Linked DNA regions of Homo sapiens: all the other regions are linked to region 1. Evidence: promoter capture Hi-C in 16 types of primary human blood cells and fetal thymus (Javierre and others, 2016). All regions are on one chromosome and are shown on one strand. Each heading gives the region's core, a stretch centred on a gene start or on the middle of the fragment in contact. The rest is flanking DNA. Distances are from core to core; before and after follow the strand shown. Region 1 holds the start of ANKRD55 (ankyrin repeat domain 55). Region 2 has its middle 38 kb from the start of GPBP1. Region 3 overlaps MAP3K1 (mitogen-activated protein kinase kinase kinase 1). Region 4 overlaps MAP3K1 (mitogen-activated protein kinase kinase kinase 1). Region 5 overlaps MAP3K1 (mitogen-activated protein kinase kinase kinase 1).

Evidence for each region. The method cuts DNA at HindIII sites, captures the fragments that hold promoters and counts their contacts. A CHiCAGO score of 5 or more calls a contact.
Region 2: a contact is called between a fragment that was not itself captured here and the fragment with the promoter of ANKRD55 in region 1, in 1 of 17 cell types (neutrophils). The highest score is 5.3, in neutrophils.
Region 3: a contact is called between a fragment that was not itself captured here and the fragment with the promoter of ANKRD55 in region 1, in 1 of 17 cell types (naive CD4 T cells). The highest score is 5.4, in naive CD4 T cells.
Region 4: a contact is called between a fragment that was not itself captured here and the fragment with the promoter of ANKRD55 in region 1, in 3 of 17 cell types (total CD8 T cells, naive CD8 T cells and naive B cells). The highest score is 5.7, in total CD8 T cells.
Region 5: a contact is called between a fragment that was not itself captured here and the fragment with the promoter of ANKRD55 in region 1, in 3 of 17 cell types (total CD8 T cells, naive CD4 T cells and total CD4 T cells). The highest score is 6.4, in total CD8 T cells.

The regions. Positions count from the first base shown.
Region 1 is chr5:56,231,527-56,235,205 of GRCh38, reverse strand. It overlaps ANKRD55 (ankyrin repeat domain 55), which reads left to right and starts at 1,876. Exons shown (of 12, transcript NM_024669.3): 1 at 1,876-1,965; 2 at 2,260-2,350. The coding sequence starts at 2,293. The HindIII fragment of the contact is 3,640 bases long and covers 1-2,586 here.
Region 2 is chr5:57,134,213-57,137,891 of GRCh38, reverse strand. No RefSeq gene overlaps it. Among named protein-coding and RNA genes, the nearest start is that of GPBP1, 38 kb to the left of the region's middle. The HindIII fragment of the contact is 3,215 bases long and covers 204-3,418 here.
Region 3 is chr5:56,872,961-56,876,639 of GRCh38, reverse strand. MAP3K1 (mitogen-activated protein kinase kinase kinase 1) reads right to left here. Exons shown (of 20, transcript NM_005921.2): 9 at 3,635-3,679; 10 at 1,330-1,608. Among named protein-coding and RNA genes, the nearest start is that of SETD9, 35 kb to the left of the region's middle. The HindIII fragment of the contact is 707 bases long and covers 1,651-2,357 here.
Region 4 is chr5:56,855,764-56,859,442 of GRCh38, reverse strand. MAP3K1 (mitogen-activated protein kinase kinase kinase 1) reads right to left here. Exons shown (of 20, transcript NM_005921.2): 2 at 2,693-2,843. It also overlaps the pseudogene LOC124901214. Among named protein-coding and RNA genes, the nearest start is that of MAP3K1, 42 kb to the right of the region's middle. The HindIII fragment of the contact is 944 bases long and covers 973-1,916 here.
Region 5 is chr5:56,838,183-56,841,861 of GRCh38, reverse strand. The region is part of intron 1 of MAP3K1 (mitogen-activated protein kinase kinase kinase 1); the gene reads right to left. Among named protein-coding and RNA genes, the nearest start is that of MAP3K1, 24 kb to the right of the region's middle. The HindIII fragment of the contact is 4,132 bases long and covers 1-3,679 here.

The DNA of each region.
Region 1 (3,679 bases), core at 627-3,126:
ATTCAGGAGTTCAATTTGCATTGTAATTCAGGCAGCTGCAGCATGAGAGCCTGCATTTGATTGCAGCATCCTCAGCCTCATGGCTACAGGAGGTAAGACTCTCCTTCAGGGTACACATACACACCTCCAGGTCATCTATATGGCACCTGAGCTGGGAATTAGAATCCGTGAGCTAATCCTTTTCTTTCATCACTTTGTCCAGTGACATTAGGAGCAACCAGCCATATTCATTAAGTTTCCAAAAATGTTTGAGGGTATCATCTACACAGTCACCCAACTCCTTGCCTGTTGTGTCCAGTGATTAATTAGGAATATTCAGTGCAGCTTTTTGCATATCTCTATTACCACTTCACACCATGGACTATCAATGCTCTCTTTACTCCTAGAAATAAAGCTATTAGAATCCTTAAATTTAATCAGATTTGAGAGCCAATTCCAGAAACCCTAGAACCAATCCTCAAGTACATGGTTTCTTGTTTAGACTAGAAAATTTCAAGGACTACAGAAGTTCTTGTCAGAAAGTTCTTACCCCATGAAGGATGGTTAATTGGGTTCCAATGTTACAATGTCAGTGAGCAGGTTGTCAGCTTGAGCAAGGAAAGTTCTTCAGTGAAGTTTCACTCATGCACTGAAATGTACTGAGCACCTCCTTTGTGCCCCTCTCTGTGCTAGGCTGTAAGGACATGGAGTGGACAAAGCAGACAAAGAAAGAGTAGACAAAGACCCTGCCCTTATGAAATGTACCCTCTTGTGGAGAAATATTTTAATTTGGGTTTCCGTAAAAGCAGACCCTGAGACAATGATTCCAATGCAAGTAACTTATTGAGAAGTGCAGGAAATATCAGTAGGAACGTGGGAAAGTAATACAGGGAGGGAACAGCAGCCCATAAAAAGAACGTTATTAGACCTATTCTCACAGGTGGCAGTGGAGTTTAACCCTGAAGGAGTTTAATCCTGAAAGGGAAATGGCAAACGGAGTAAAACACCATGCCTCAGAATCATCCTATCCAAGGGCAAAGGAAGCTGGTGTTTATTATTAGATTCAACAAGCATCTACTATATGGCTATTTGACTTATCCAAAAATCTGGTTGTGCCTAGAATATAGAACTTTGTTTGAATTTAGTATATCATATTTTTATTACAAATACAAGATAATAGATACTGGTTATTAACAAGCCAAAAATACAGAGATTGATACAGAACAAGTTAGAAATCTCCTACTCTAATCACAGTGGCCTGAGGGAACCAATATTAGCAGTTTAGTACGTATCTTTCTACATCTTTTTCAGTGTTCGTCTGAATATATAAAAATAATGTATACAGTGAGTGGTTTCCGGTTTTATTAAAACACGAACAAATGAAATATATAACTTGTTTATTTCATTTAACAATAGATTAGTGACATGTCACCAGATAAATACACAGATTTATTTATGTCAGATTTTTAAATCTAGAGTACGAATTTACTACCATTTACTTAGCTGCTCCCTGAATGAGGTACATTCGGGTGATTTTTCAGGTTTTACTACATGTAATGCTACAATAAACACCCTTGTGACAGCAGACTGTTTTAATTTTATCACCACAGACACTCGAGCCTTGAAATGTCACCTTTCAAATGACGCCTTTCCCCATCCTCCCTGTCAATTGGAGAACGGAGCTGAAAGGGGAGTGAAGAAGACTGCCAACATGGATAATTACTCCACACAGCACATGGCCAGCAGCCTCCTGCTACAATATTTACATCCTATTCCATTGAGATGGCACTCTCTGCTCACATGACCCAAATGCAGTTCTCACTCCGCCAAAAGCACAGCCGAATGCGAACTGCATTGGCAGCTTTGCACATGCTCTGTCTGGCCCTGTGAATCCTCACTCACCCATTCAGATTTCTGTTGGTGTAAAGCGACATTCCAGCTGCTGAAGCTCCGTGATCTGCTGTGTTTTTCCAGCCCAGATCCAAGGCAGGTGGCCCATACAATTTTACTATCTTTTTGGAGTTTGAGTAATTGTGTTTATTGATTTGGGGGTGGAGGGTGTATTATGCCCATGTACAGCTGATGAATGAGGCCATAGAGTAACTCTTTTCCTAGCAGGTATTTACAGGAATAGCATTTACCTATTTTCATCACCTTGCCTTGACAACAACCTGCAGCTCTGATGCACATTTAATCCTGAAACAGAGGTCTTGGCAAACGATGCTGCCTCTGACTGTCATGTTGACAGTAAGGTTTGAGATGGTGTTTTCTCCTCTCTAGAGACCTGGATGCTTTTTGCCATTCTGATGGTAAATGATGAGACAGGCTACCATGGATTTCAGCACCCCTTCTGTGTTTGATCAGCAAAGAGGTAAAATGCTGCTTTAACACATTCTTTGGTTGTTAGCATCCTTAGTCTCATGGTATGGATTTACAGTTGTAAGGAGAGAAAGAGAAGTGTGTGTGTGTGTGTGTGTGTGTTCATGTGCGTGGGTGTGCATGAGTATTTGCTATGTAGGATGTGGAAAGAGGATTTCACCTAGAAAACAAACCTGTTCAAAATGTTCACTTCTAGTTTGATAAGCATCTGAAACAGAAAAATAAGCTTATGATCTGTTGTATAAGCTTATGATCTTGTTGAAGTATTCCTACCTTCAAATTTTAAAAACTGGATTTCAAGCACACCAACTATTTCAGATAGTGTCATCTTTATTCTGTTTTTTCCAAATCTTTTTTAAAAATTAGGGTAAGCAATGTAAGAACACATCACATTTTTTTTGTCATTCGATTAGCCCAGTATCTCATTGCTGTATCTTCGTAAGCATTTTTTTATTCCTTTCAGGAATAGATGTTGCCTGTATTTATGTCGGGTTGATATGTTATCTCATCCAAGGTTGTGTAATGACATATCCCTATGCTATTATTTGCAATGCCAGGGTATATCTTCCTTACTTATAATTTCTGGAGTGGAGGTAATTTTCCACATCAAAATGTTGCTGTGAGATCAACTTATCCTTATAATATCACATATTTGGCCATGTGGTCTATGTGTATACATTTTGCATATGCAATGTGTTTATATACATCTTCGTGTAATACTTATGTGTAATAGTAAATCTTTTTTTAGTATAAACATGAAATTTCCATTTTATAAACATAATAAATATTTTTTAGAATCTTTTCTTAAATATCTATTATTTAAACCACTTTCTACAGTCTCTGAATATTCTTCAAGATCCTAAGTTCCTTTGGTGATTTTATCTGTTTTGGCTACAACATGAAATGGTGGTTTGAAAAAGCCTCATTAAGAAAATGTACTGCTTCATTCTTTTTTCCCTTTTCCTGCTCTAGGCCATAGCATGTTTATTACCCCTCAAGCTACATCTGGCTTTGTGGGTGAATTATTTTAGCCCAGGGGGTTTCTCCAAAAATAAATTTATATTTAGATTCCTGAGTTAGCTAATGTATATATGTGTATAGTGTGTTCTCCAGGTCTTAGCTCATTTGGAATAGTGTTTGTGTATGTGTATGTGTGTGTGTGTGTGTGTGTGTGTGTGTGTGTGTGTGTGTGTGCGCGCCTTCAGAACGTGCCGGCTCATACCGTGTTTGGATCTGAACAGCATAGAGAAAGGCGTTGTCACAGCTGTGCCCACCACCATCCTCTCCTCCTGGTACATTTTATATCACTGATGGCAGTCAG
Region 2 (3,679 bases), core at 562-3,061, 900 kb before region 1:
TATAATCAAGGTCCACAAAAGGAACTTTTGCCTATTTAAATATACACAATAGTTATGATACACTTGAAAATACAATAAAGGTATGCTCTAATGATGAGTTTGAGGGCACTTTCAGGACTAGAAGCTAGAAGGAAGCTGTGATGTAACATTGTATTATGACTTAAACCTCCCTTGGAGCATTCTTGGAAGTAAGAGCTAAAGCTTAAATGCTACCCAGGTGTTATCTGAAGTCTCCTACCTACGAGATCTAGACAAGATTGGCTTGAATGCTAGTTACTCACTATGAGAAGTCCAAAGCCCTCCCTAAGATTTCTGTGACTCTCTGGGAGGGAGGAGGTAGATGTTGGGGAAGGTATGACGTTCTCATGGTCACCTTTATATGTATAAACAAAGCATTTAGAACAAATCCTGGCATGCCTTGTAAGTATTAGCTATTTTCACCTCTTCATTTTTCTTCCTCCTCCTCCTTCTCCTTGACTTTCTCTGCTTCTGGCTTCCACTAAGCAGGGTCAGTTAATAGATTGTCACCTTATTTCTGACACAGCTGTTCCATTCTGCACCATGCGGATCCATTGGTTAATTTCATTACCTGTTTCAATTGATACATACTTATAATACCACTACTCACTCCACTGCTCACCTCCCACCCCACACCCACCTCCACAGATGTTATTATCTGTTAACATGAAGTTTGTTTTTTTTTTTTTAGACGGAGTCTTGCTGTGTCGCTCAGGCTAGAAGTGCAAATAGCACAATCTCTGCTCACTGCAACCTCTGCCTCCCAGATTCAAGCAATTATCCTGTCTCAGCCTACTGAGTAGCTGGGACTACAGGCGCACATCACCACAAATTTTTGTATTTTTAGTAGAGACGGGGTTTCACCATATTGATCAGGCTGGTCTCAAACTCCTGACCTCATGTGATCCAACCACCTCAGCCTCCCAAAGTGCTGAGATTACAGGCATGAGCCGCTTTGCCCAGCCAACATGAGGTATTTTTGCTTTTGTTTTTTGAGACAGGTTCTTGCTCTGTTGCCCAGGCTGGAGTGCAGTGGCAAGATCATGGCTCACTGCAGCCTCAACTTCTTAGGCTCAATTGATCCTCCCACCTCAGCCTCCCAAGTAGCTGCTACCACAGACACATGCCATCATGCTCAGCTAATTTTTTAACATTTTTTTTTCTAGAGACAAGGTCTCATCATGTTGCCCAAGCTGGTCTTCAACTCCTGGCCTCAAGTGATCCTCCCACCTCAGCCTCCCAAAGTTTGGGGATTTAACAGGTGTGAGCCACTGCACCCAGTACATTTTTGTTTTTTATCAGACTTTGATGAAAATTTTGGGAGTGAAAATGAATGAGGTATGGGTATTCACAGCTCAACAACATGAACCCTTCCACTTGAATACTAGATACTTCTTTTTTTTTTGAGACAGAGTCTTGTCCTGTCACCCAGGCTGGAATGCGGTGGTGCGATCTCAGCTCACTGCAACTTCTGCCTCCCGACTTCAAGCGATTCTCCTGCCTCAGCTTCCTGAGTAGCTGCAACTACAGGCGCGTACCACCACGCCCAGTTAATTTTTGTATTTTTAGTCTGTAGGGTTTCCCCATGTTGGCCAGGCTGGTCTTGAACTCCTGATCTCAGGTGATCTGCCTGCCTCGGCCTCCCAAAGTTCTGGGATTACAGGCATGAGCCACCGCTCCCAGCCAAATACTAGATACTTCTTAAAAGTTCTTTTCCAAGGAATTTTTCTTTTTCTTTTCTTTTCTTTTTTTTTTTTTTTTTTTTTCGAGACGGAGTCTCGCTCTGTCACCCAGGCTGGAGTGCAGTGGCGGAATCTCACAGGTTCACGCCATTCTCCTGCCTCAGCCTCCCGAGTAGCTGGGACTACAGGCACCCGCCACCTCGCCTGGCTAATTTTTTGTATTTTTTAGTAGAGATGGGGTTTCACCGTGTTAGCCAGGATGGTCTCCATCTCCTGACCTCGTGATCCGCCCGCCTCGGCCTCCTAAAGTACTGGGATTACAGGCGTGAGCCACCGTACCCGGCCCCAGGGAATTTTTCTATTGGCTTCTGACTCATATAGGTATTTAGTAACACCCTGGCTAGATTGTTTCTCTTCTCTCCTGGGTCTTGTATCATTTCAGTACCCTCTCCTTCCTGAACTGCAGCCCCCAAATGCAAATTCTTATTCTTTACACAGAACACAGCAGTTCTCACTGCTGTCTACTTCCAGGCTAAGATCTGGCCCCCGTTTTGCATATCCAAACACATCCAAATGTTCAGTAGAACAAAAAGGCTTTTATTTACCAGGCTCTACCCTCCTTTGATGGACATTATGGTTGAAAATTTCATTTTTATCTCATTTTTGCACAGGCAGATAGAGTGAGAGAAATTTAACAGGGACCTCAGAGAGAAGACAAACTGGGAGGGATGTGGAGCTTCCTAGGGAGGGGATTAACATTTGGAGAGCAAGTATCAGCAGTAACAGCAGTTTTAGGCTGGAGACCAAAAACCTGAAATAATCCAGTTCATGGAAAATGAGGCATACTAAGAATTCAGATCTAGCGAATGGAAGAGTAGACACAAGTTCCTGCAAAATGAGGCTTGTCAACCAACTCCATACAATAACTAGGGTACCTGATAAAGGTCCCCCATATTCTGGGCACTTGTATCGTACGGTCTGAAGAATGGGCAAGGAAGAAACCCCCAAGCCTGAAAAATCCATGTGAAAAGGGCCGGGTGTGGCGGCTGACGCCTGTAATCCCAGCACTTTGGGAGGCTGAGGCCGGCAGATCACCTGAGGTCAGGAGTTCAAGACCAGCTTGGCCAACATGGTGAAACCCCGTCTCTACTAAAAATACAAAAATTAGCTGGGCGTGGTGGCGTGCACCTGTAATCCTAGCTACTCTCGAGGCTGAGGCAGGAGAATTGCTTGAACCCGGGAGGCAGAGGTTGCAGTGAACCAAGATCTCACCATTGCACTCCAGCCTGAGGGACAAGAGTGAAACTCTGTCTCGAAAATAAATAAATAAATAAATAAATAATCCATGTGTAAAGGACTTAAGTAGGCAAGCATTCTAGGGGCTTGATACAGATCTGAAGACATTCTGACATGCATGATATGATTAATAATTGTTTTATTCCTGAGAGAAACAAGTGTGATTAAATTAAAACATTTGTTTTGGTTGTTTGGTTGGTTGTTTGTTTCTAGAGACGGGCGTCCTGCTATTTTGCCCAGTCTGGTCTTGAACTCCTGACCTCCAGTGATCCTCCTGCCTCAGCCTCCCAAAGCGTTGGTATTACAGGAGCGAGCCTTGATATTTGATAAAGGTAGCACCACAAAACAATAACAAAAGGATGGATTGTTTCTTAGGTGGCATGATAAACCTGGCTTACAGTTTTACAGAGAAAAATCAAGCTTGAACTCTCTTTTTATCGTGTGTAAAGGGGACTCAAAATGGATTCTACTATCTACTAAAATAATATTAATAGAAAATGCAGGGGACAATGTTTGTGAATCAGGAGGAAAACTTGAGCAAGATCCAAAATACCAACATGAGATTAAAAAAAAAAAAATGAGGGGCTGGGCGAGGTGGCTCATGCCTGTAATCCCAGCACTTTGGGAACTCGAGGCGGGCAGATCACCTGAGGTCAGGAGTTCGAGACCAGTCTGACCAACAT
Region 3 (3,679 bases), core at 755-3,254, 640 kb before region 1:
TTTGAATCCAGGTCTGTCTCTATGATCTTGATCATGTGTTCAGATTGCCTAGGCTAGTCCAACTTTAACCAGCACATTATGCAAGCATTGTGGTTGGAATGATAAATTATGAGATCACTCAATTGTGACTCCAAACCCATGTTCGTAACTGTCATGCTGTATTACCTGTCAAGAAGATTCATTAGGCCCAATCGGTAGAGGATGCATTAGAAAAAGACTGAGGGAGGAAGCCTACAGACTGCTCATGAATTTTAAGAACAGACTAGATAAGAATTAAAGTAGTGATTCTGAATTGGGGGCAGTTTTGACCACTGGAGACATTTGGCAATGCCTGGAGACATTCTTGGTTGTCATAACTGGGGGCATGATCGGGTGGGGGTGGGTTTGCTCCTGGTATCTAATGGGTAGAGGCCAGAGATGCTGCCACAGTACACACATGACAACATCCCTGGCCCTCCCCCCACCCTCCAACAAATAATTATCTAACAAATGTTAATAGTACTGAGGCTGAGAAGCCCTAAAGAGACATATACGCAGAATGGAGAAAGTCCAGTTAGTCTCCTAAATTACCTCCTTGTCACTCTATTCCACCCATGAAAGAACTTTTAACAGGTTAAACTGGAAAACAACTCAATGATCTATGTCATGGAACCCTTTTCTTTGAAAAGGCTTTTGAATCTCCACATGACAATGTTTATTAAAAATCAATCAAAATGTTTATTAAAAACATATCTTCCTTAATATCTGATAAATTTTTTAAAAAATCAGAATAACGTTGATGACTCTGCCATCCCAAAAAGCATTTTTAATTTGGTCATGTATAAGGTATCTGCTCAGAAAAATGTACAGATATGAACAGCAAGACATTAAAAAAATCTTTAAAAATTAGCAAGCTTGTCTAGCTCACCCTATTTGTTGTTGTTCTGTTTTGTTTTGTTTTGTTTTAGGCTTTAGCAGCCTGAAGCCATGGTTTTTAGTCTGTCTCTAGTGGTAAGTGGAAAAGGAGGATGAGGAAGGAGCTTTACTGGCCCAAACAGAAACTAAGAAACCATGACTATATTCTCTCCCTTGGATACCCCTGCAAAGCCTTTAAAACAATGAAACTAAAAAGTAAAACAGTTATATAAGAAACCTTGGACATCATAAAAATCAGTAAAATTCAAATAAACAAAACAAAAGCTGTAATTTCCTGGAATTATGGAATAAAAATAAAATTTGGATTTTCCAAAATTAGGTAAAGTAGCTTTATTGTATCTTAAAAACACTATCTACGAACCATCAAAAAACCCCAAACCCATAATGATATGATTATGGAATAAAGCTACTTACTAAAGCAGCAACGTACACTTTGTAGACAGGGTCAGCACAGACCATTGACAGAACGCTGCAGCATGCCTCCACCACATCTCCTGAGATACTGGTCTGGGAAGACCCACTGGTGGCTCCCCCACTCGGGCTGCTTCCACTGCTGCCCCCAGAATTTCCAGTGCTCTCCCCATTTGCCAACAGCAGGGCCCCACTGACATCATGGGAAAGACGCCTGAGGGCCATCTCTCTCACATTCCAGTTTCTAGAAAATAAGCAGCCAACGAGTTCCATTCCAAACACCTGTATCAAACACACACGATGAATTCAATGTAAAGAAAAGCTTATGGACCCAGAGCATTTTGAGTTTAGCATCATTTTTGATTACTACGTAAAAACTGGACATTTCTGAAATCTTTACCATCCTTCACAACTTCAAATATATCCAGCCACTTAAGCATCATAAGGAAGAATTTTATACTCAAGTTTAACTGATAATTATCCAAAGTCATTAATATTTATTAGCTCAGGTAAAATTAATAATAAGCTCCATTAAGTCACTAGATGGCTATACATACATTCTATGCCTCTACTGTCCCACATGCTTACCAAAACGCCAAAAAACTGTGAAAACCTCAACTCTGTATTCATATTAAGGTAGTTTAAAGAGAAAAACTGGAGCAAGATTAAGAAAACAAACAAACAAACAAAAAACAAATCAAAAAAAGCACCAGGAGAAGGTTTCAAGAGATATAGAGTATTTCTCTTACAGACAAGAGCAATAAGCAAAACACATTTAATTGGTTTTTGTCTGTATAAAAAGGTTTAAAAAACTAGACAAAACAGGTAGGACTGTAAAACGAATGGAGTGGACAAATCAAACAACTGAAGAAAAAATGCTTGTGTTCGAGTAAGCAAAGGATAAATGTAGACGTAGAATTATAGTATATGCTGTTATCGTCGTCAATACCATGCCCCAAAAGCCAGAGTCCCTACAGTGAGGAAAGGGTGAATGGTCTTGACATTATGGGCCAATTAGCTAAAAGTAAGCTTAATACCTAAGATAATTCATTATGTGAAAAATGCCTAAATATTAAAGATGAATAAACACAACTTTTGAAAAACAGATCATAACATACTTATTTACATATGTTTTGTTATAAAGGGATATTATGGGAGAATGAACCAACTAGAATATAGTGAGCTTCTGGTACTGTTAAGTAGTGTACCACTACCTATGTTTTAACTGTCTTACCTAACATGCTTAATAAAAAGCTAGGAATGTAGAGCCTAGTCTGACCTAAAGCTTAGGCAAAACAAACTAGACCATATGCTTGAAAGAATGAACTCTAACAGCTCAGAATCAACTTGAGAGTTCTTTGATGGGTCATGAAAGGGCAGGTGAGGGCCTATGTTCATTAATAGTTCATTAAATTTCATTAATGAACTAGGTACAAGAATGTGTTTAATATTTTTGCAGATTTTATTAGATTCATAAATGGGTTGCTAATATGCTAAGAGAATTCCAAAGCTGCAGGACTGTAATGGTCACAAAAGAAAAATGTAACAAATCCTAATGATATATAAGCTCAATGTGTTAATGCACCTGTTCACAAATTTAATTCAACAGAATTTAACAGATTATTGAAAATAATTATTTTACTTTATTATTGTCTACTGGAGACCCGTCTGGTTTTAGATCCTACATTTAAAAAATAATAGACTGAGCATTCAACAACCAAGAAAATCATTACAAACCAACTGACAAAAAAGCCCTACTTACTGAGGATGAAAAAACATTCAATCAGAAGAGATGGTAAAGGGATGGGAAACTGTTCTTACAAATAAAAATGATGAACTCAAGGTAACCATCACATATTTTTTTCTTATTCATCTCCTCTGCAATTATTAAGCACCCATTGTATGCCATTAGGATATGAAAAGAGAAATTAATTTTAAATGGCAGCAAATAAGAAACATGATAAAAATTCTTGGCAGGCACGGGGATTAAACATTGGGAAAAGTTAGCATTGAAGGGTTCTGGTTTCTATCCTTCTATCCTTGAATAACCCCGTATGTCCGTTAGTTCAGGAAGAGATGTTTCTAGATATGTGAAGTGAAACCACAAGAAGTTTTGAAGTTGAAGCTGTACAATAAGCAGTATAGTATTAATACCAAAAGTAACATTAAAATTTCCAGTGGAATGAAGGTCATGATGGAGGCAAGTAAAAGTGTTTTTTTAAATTATGAACAACTGAGGGAAGGAGACAAATACATTAATTGATCTATAAATATTTCTTTGAGAAATGAAAAACAAAGAACTACTTACCTGAATCCATGGCTCAGCTAAATCTTTGTAAGCAGGAGGGATTTG
Region 4 (3,679 bases), core at 195-2,694, 620 kb before region 1:
GGTATTATTTGTTATTATATACCCTAACTCATTTAACACTCAAAAGCAACAATCAAAGGTGATTAAACAAATGTGAAAAATAAGCACTCATAACTTCTACAGTCAACTTATTCAACTACTAGATCAAAGATCTAGGTACGTTTTTATTTGTTTTTACAAAATGTAGGACCTTGAAACAACACTGGGCATAATTTCAAATAGTTTGATCACTATGCAATCATTTTCCCTGCTTTGTGTGTGTGTTTCTTTACAATGTTATATTACAATAATAGGTTAGATGTGTATCTCAGAAAACCAAAAGAGACTAGAAGTTTAAAGATCAATTTCTCAAGCAGAAATGCAGTTTACAAGACCTGCCTTTTTTTTTTTTTTTTTTTAATTAAGGCTTTCAGACCTAATCTAGCCATGACCAAAGGCCAAACTCCACAGCTTTGTACAACTGAAGCTCAGCAGACCTTTCTGGACTTTCTCCCACTGCTCCTGTTCTATAGCCAGTTGCTGTGTTCACCAAACTTGCCTGACCCTTCCTCCTCCTGTGCTTTCACTCACTCTCCTCCTATTTTAATACTCATCTCCAGCCTGCAGCACCCCAGGCAGTACACCTTCACATGAGGAAAATTTACCCATCTTTCTACGCTGAGTTAAAATTCTTCCTTTTATGAAACTTCCCTGAAGTCTACCAGCAAGACATTCCTTCTCTTTCCTAAGTCCCTATTGCTCTTCTGCCCATCCCACACATTTGGCACCTAGTCACAAGTTGCTTTGTGATATTTCATGTATTACTCTATTTATTATGTATAAGTCTAATTTTCCCATTTGGAGATATTTACCCTTTATGTTTCAAGAATGATTTGACACAACTTACTTAAAGTATAAAAACAAACAAAATCAGACCTCCCAAGTAAACAGTAAACTTCCTAAGGATAATACGAAATCCGTAAATCATAAAATGTAGGGTGGCATAATTAAGCTTAAGGACTATGTGTTATGCATCTTATTCCACACATCTCCTCCCTCTTCACTCATGTCTTATATACAGACAAGGTACTTTGGTACTTGCTAGAAAGTGAACAGTATAAAAACCAAAATTTTGTTTTAGAGAACTGGATATTCTTAGTTCATGTATAATAAAGAACAAATAGCTGGCTCATTTTTAAAAAGTTGTGATTTATGCCCTACGGTATTCTCAAAAGATTTAGGCTGTTTGAACACCTCCATCTAAAGGAGCTCAGAAAGCAGCACATTCAAACTTCAGATGGCTCTGCTTGTTCAAAAGTTCTTTATATTGATTGAGTAGTAATATGCCCTTTTAACTGCCAACATTCTACAAGATGTTTCAATAGCACTTTCTCTTCTCTAAGATAAATCCTTAATTTCTTCATATTCACCTTCTGGCACGAATAGCTAAAATGGTGAGGGGTTCCCACCATACCACCTCACGTGAGTAATAAATGGAAGAAATGTAGAAACTTAGCTGTAAAGACAAGGACTCACGGGCCCATAATAACTTACCAAGTGCTGGTATGGAAAGGAACAATTAGATTTATTCTGTATAATTCCATCGGTTAGAATGAGAACCAGTGGGTAAAATATTCCTGACAGACTGCAGCTCAGTGATGAGGATATCGAAAGCCACAGGGATTATTGAGTTATTTAAGTCAGACACGAGTCAGTACTACACATCTAAGAGAGCTTTCTGAGGCAGTGAAAATGTGCTAAAACTGCACTGCCTAAAAGGTAGCCATTGGCCACATGTGGTTACTGAGCATTTGAAATGTAGTTGGTGAGACTGAGGAACTAAATTTTTACTTTTATTTACATCTAATTAATTTAAATGTAAACTTAAATAGGCATATGGGATGAATGTAGGGCAGACAATCACTTGGCAGGGGTGTATTTAGACCCTTGTCAAAGCTTAGATGAATTTTAAGTTGCCATATCTGTTTTAAAAGAACAAAATAAAAACTTGCTGAGAGAGATTAGTGCTAGGATACTGTAATACTTCTTCCTTTGTAAGAATGAAGACACACATTTCATGATGGTATTCTTATAAGAATATATATTCTTATACCTATAGCAAAGGACAGAGTATCCCTGCTTTTTAAAATCTAGGACTCTAGATTTTCTTTCATCAAACCCCACACATTTTTAATTTATCTTAATCCCCATAGGTCTATTAAACATTTTTTCATGTCAAATGAGGATAACATGCTGACACTGTAACAAAGTTGGAGAAACGCACATCTTATGCATGCATGTGAAAACCCAATCATTACACTTATGAATTACTGCAATTAAATGTTTTCTTTCCTAGAAGATTTCTGAAATTAAGATCCTTGGATCCTGTCTTAGAGATAAAACATCTAAAATAAACTGGAAAAATTCTTTTTAAAATTTACAAGTACAGTATAAAACTCCAATGAAAGGATTTTAGATACTGACATGAGAGGGCAGTCTTGGTTTAAGCATTTACCCCTCCACCAAACACAACAGTTAAGTTCCCAGAATAGTTTAAGTTGTTTAATGAGCACAGTTTTAATTATGGTTTCTTCCAAATGACCACAATATCAAGTAAAGAAAACTACTACATTTAAAATGAAGAAGAAAAGCTTACAAGAGGATCTATTTATGCTTACTTTTCCATTTCCTCCTATGCTTTCTTCCTTATAACTGGTAACCCATAGCCACTTACCACAGGCCCTCGCCTATTTCTCCTTTCCAACCATTCGTGCTTCCAGGCTGGCATACAGGTTGCCTTCAGTTTCTCCCTGATCATTCGTTCCTCTGGACGATCATCCATCTTGTGCAACCCTTTGAGAGTTTCTTTATTCTCCATCTCACGACTAAAATGCAGGCAGAAACAAATAAAATGAGAAATGTATATATGAAAAATAATTTCCAAGAACAAACAGAATGGATGGTTCTATTTTATACTTCCAACGGACATGTAATAAAAAAGATAACTGCTAAAAACCCCAAATGACTTAAAGCTTGAAAAGATTCTGAATTATATACTACTGACATATATCATGCAGACCTATGTTCCACTGTAGTTAACAAAATGAATCCCAAGACATTAAGCACTATATTAACAAATATATTCACTAAGACTGCATTGTTTTTAATTCTACCACCCAAATAACAAATATTTAGAAGGGTGTATTACTACACTTTTATCCCAGGATTTCCAATAAATTAAGTCAATACAGATAGAATCTGGTGGATATGCTGATTTATCTGAAATAAGCTCAATAAATATTTAATAAGTGAAGTGAAACTTAACTACATCATCTATGACCCCAAAACAATTTTTCATAGCCTACATGATTAAATTTTTATTTTCATAGAACAGTGACTTCATAACAAAGCACTTGGGGTACTCTATAAAGAATAAAAATTATCCAGTACAAACATTTGATCTTTACTCCATAAAATGGTGTGGATTTACCAGAATAAAACAATCTCTAAACTAAGAACGTTTGAGAATTAACTCTACAAAGCCTAACAGGCAAAGCATCAAGCTCACGAAAATCACTAATTTTAAAATATACCCATATCCACATGAGCATACATGCATACACGATATGCATAGATTTGAAAACCTGATTTATAAGGATGCAGTTAAAGCAACTGCACCTTGGGATTAGTAACAACTTTAAAAATACTAAGCTAATTTCAG
Region 5 (3,679 bases), core at 793-3,292, 610 kb before region 1:
GGATTCAGGGGTCTGGAAATTCATAATCAAGTCCTGACTGTGCCATTAGCCATGACATGCTCTTAAGAAATTCACAACCTTTTTGGAACTTAAGAACCTATGAAATCACATCAGACTACAAGATGATAGCTTAGGGTCATTCAGTGTGAACATACAATTCATTTATCGCCACTGCCACATCAATATTATTCCTGTCAGGCAGATAGACACCATCAGAAGATAGAAAGCTCAATAGGACCACAAATTCCTTTTAATCGTTAAATCTGGAGAGTACTTCCCAAAATTTTTTTGAGTAAAATATTCTTTGTCATTCTATAATCCAGTGGCTCTCCATGTTTTTGAATGTGAAAATCCTTTCTTAAGGTATCATCACCATCTACGTGGTAGCTAAGTGGATCTGCAGACCCCTTGTACTAACTCAGGCAGTATATCAGTATGGGTGACATACTGTTACGAACTTTTAGACTCCTCCAATATTCACTATCATAGCAATTCAAACTTTATTACTAAGAGAGGCACGTATTATGTATAAGACTCTATCAAAGCTCTCAGAAAGTTCAGACAACTGTCAAGCAGAACATTCGAGAAAGTAGAGAGCACAAAGATTTTAAGATCGTTTTACATGAAAAATATTAACCTGTCTAGTTTTTTTTTTTTTTAAATCAATAAGCCATACATTTCTCTTCCTTAAAAGGCTTAACAATTTTGACCTCAGATGATCTGCCTGCCTTGGCCTCCCAAAGGGCTGGGATTACAGGTGTGAAACACCTTGCCCAGCCAATATGGCAAAACCCCATCTCTACTAAACACACACACAAATTAGCTGGGCGTGGTGGTGCATGCCTGTAATCCCAGCTACTCAGGAGGCTGAGGCAGGAGAATCGCTTGAACTCGGGAAGCGGAGGTTACAGTGAGCTGAGAACGTGCCACTGCACTCCAGCCTGGGTGACAGACAGAACAAGACTCCATCTTTAAAAAAAAAAAAAAAAAACCTTAACAATTTTGCATTTGCATATTTAAGTGCTGTAAGTCAAAAAGATGCAAAGTAGTAGCCTGAAATGAGACATGAAACATGGCGGCTCTCAGACCAAGTTTCAGTTCCAGTTGTTTTTACGTCCCAATGTGAATTCTATTAATAACTACTTCAGGCCAGAGCTCTCTGTAGCCACACAGCTGACTTTTCTCATAATCTGGAATAATGGTATCAGATACGCTTAATCTCAGTCAAGTTACAGAAGTTAGGGTTTTCTGTTTTTTAAAAGGAGAAAAGCTGGGATACAATATTAAAAGTCATACTAGTTTTCTGAGTGCAAATCTGAAAACACAGTTATTGCTAAAATATTTACAAGTTTTGTATTATTAAATAATGTTTTCAGAGAATACTTGCTATTCAGCCAATTAATACTCATTATTTGGCTGGACGCAGTGGCTCATGCCTGTAATCCCAGCACTTTAGGAGGCCGAGGCGGGTAGAACACCTCAAGTCTGGAGTTCAAGACCAGCCTGGCCAACATGGTGAAACCCTGCCTCTACTAAAAATACAAAAATTAGCCAGGTGTGGTGGCATGTGCCTGTAATCCCGGCTAACTGGGAGGCTGAGGCAGGAGAATCGTTTGAACTTGGGAGGCGGAGGTTGCAGTGAGCCGAGATCAGGGCACTGTACTCCGGCCTGGGTGACAGAGCAAGGCTCCATCTCAAAAAAACAAAAAACAAACAAACAAACAAAACGCTTATTTAAGTAACATGAGTAGATGTCAATGGCAAGTTACACAATAAGAGAAACTTTGACTTTAAAACCAACTTTACCATAGGCCAATTGATGTAAACAAGTGGGAAAGTTTCTATGGCATATTTCTGGTCACAAAAACATCACCAAACTTCTAGAGACCCCAAACACTTCTAACACTAAACACTGAAAAAATGTGAGCTGTAACATACATTTAAGAAACATTAATAAGATGATTATTTACCCACTTATTCCAGTTCAGGGTCACAGGTGGCCAGAGCCTGTCCCAACAATTCAGGGTGCCAGACTTGAACTAGCCCTGGGTAGGATGTCATCCCGTTGCAGGGTGCATTAACAAACACCCACATTCTCTCAGTCTGGGTCCTTGCAGACATGACAATGAACCTAACGTGCACATCTTTGGGGTGTCAGGGGGAAACCAGAGTACTGAGAGAAAATCCACCCAGAGATGGGGGGAGTATGCAAACTCCATACAGACAGTAGCCTCTGCCAGAAGAGATTTTTATCCTCATCAACTTTTTAGCAAAATTGTCCAAAATGTTCAACTAAATGACATTATTGAAGGATCTGCTATACTTTACACTGGAAAAATAAAAGGCAACTAACCATTGGTTAATATACCTGACACTATATATGTATTTTTTCACTTCAGGATCTTAATCTATCACCCCTCATGGATTATACCATTAATCTGTACACATAAGCAAGGATAAATCAATTTAGCATACAGTCCACCTCTTTTAAATACCACTCATGACTTGCATAATCCAATCGACAAGTGGAAAAAGCTGGAGATGGCTGATGCCTAGTAGTCAATTAAGCCACAACATCAAAAATGTCCCAATATACTAAAAATAATGACTATGCGAAATTCTCAAATGATGTCCTTTAATTCGGATACTGGTGTGTTTGCTGCTGTTCATGTACTCAACCTTTCACTAATGAGATACTATTGTTAGGAACTACAAAAAGAGCACCATATGGATTACTCTGAAGTAGGCCTTTGGATTCGCAACTTGACCTCAGGAATCCCTCCACTGACCTATGGCCAAGTTGTGATCAAGCAATCTCTGCACTAATATTATTCCCTAGGAAAACGAAGTCTCCCCAGAAGATCTCGACCAATGTCATATGCTCTTCAATCCCCTTCAATTATTTTTTGGAATAGTTCATTTCCTCCCAGCCATTTGCTCCTAGCTCAAAACAAAACAAAACAAAAAACCTTCTGGGCCAGTGAGTACATTAACATGATGGTAAGGTTTTGAGACTTGCCAAGTGCTGAATCATGTTTATGCTTAGGTTTTGTTTCTACACCTGGTTTTGGGGGCATAAACTCCCTCTAAGAATCCTAGCTACCCTAGTCAATCCACTGGAAGACGGGATCACTGCCCAGCAAATGCCACCCACTAAGGATTCAAAGTGAAACAAGATTCTTCGAATTGAATGGAAGAAAACAAAAGCTCTTCATTCAGTAGGTGGCACTCTTTCCTTAAAAATGTTAACTCAGGCAATCATTAATACCAAAGATGTCATCTGCCCACTAATCACTTGAAAGAGAAGGCACATTAACTCTAACATCCTGTCCTAAATATAGTCTGAATCATTACTGTCTTCCTAAATAATGTCTTCCTCATTTCAATGAGATCCTGGAGTTGTTCATAAATATGCCAATTTCTTTTCACTATAGCAAAAGCTACAATTTCATAGAACCAAATAATTGCATTTACTTTAAACTGGCAGGTTTTGACTTATGACTTTTCCTGCTATATGCTTCAAAAGACATTCATCATAACTGTTTTCTAATTTTAATGATTTCAGATATAAATGACAATTTGAATGGAAATGGGGCAAAGAACTGTACTTGTAACACAAATTGTATTACTCCATTTTAAAACAAGACAGCTCTTTTTCATAGGCATGCATATGAATATT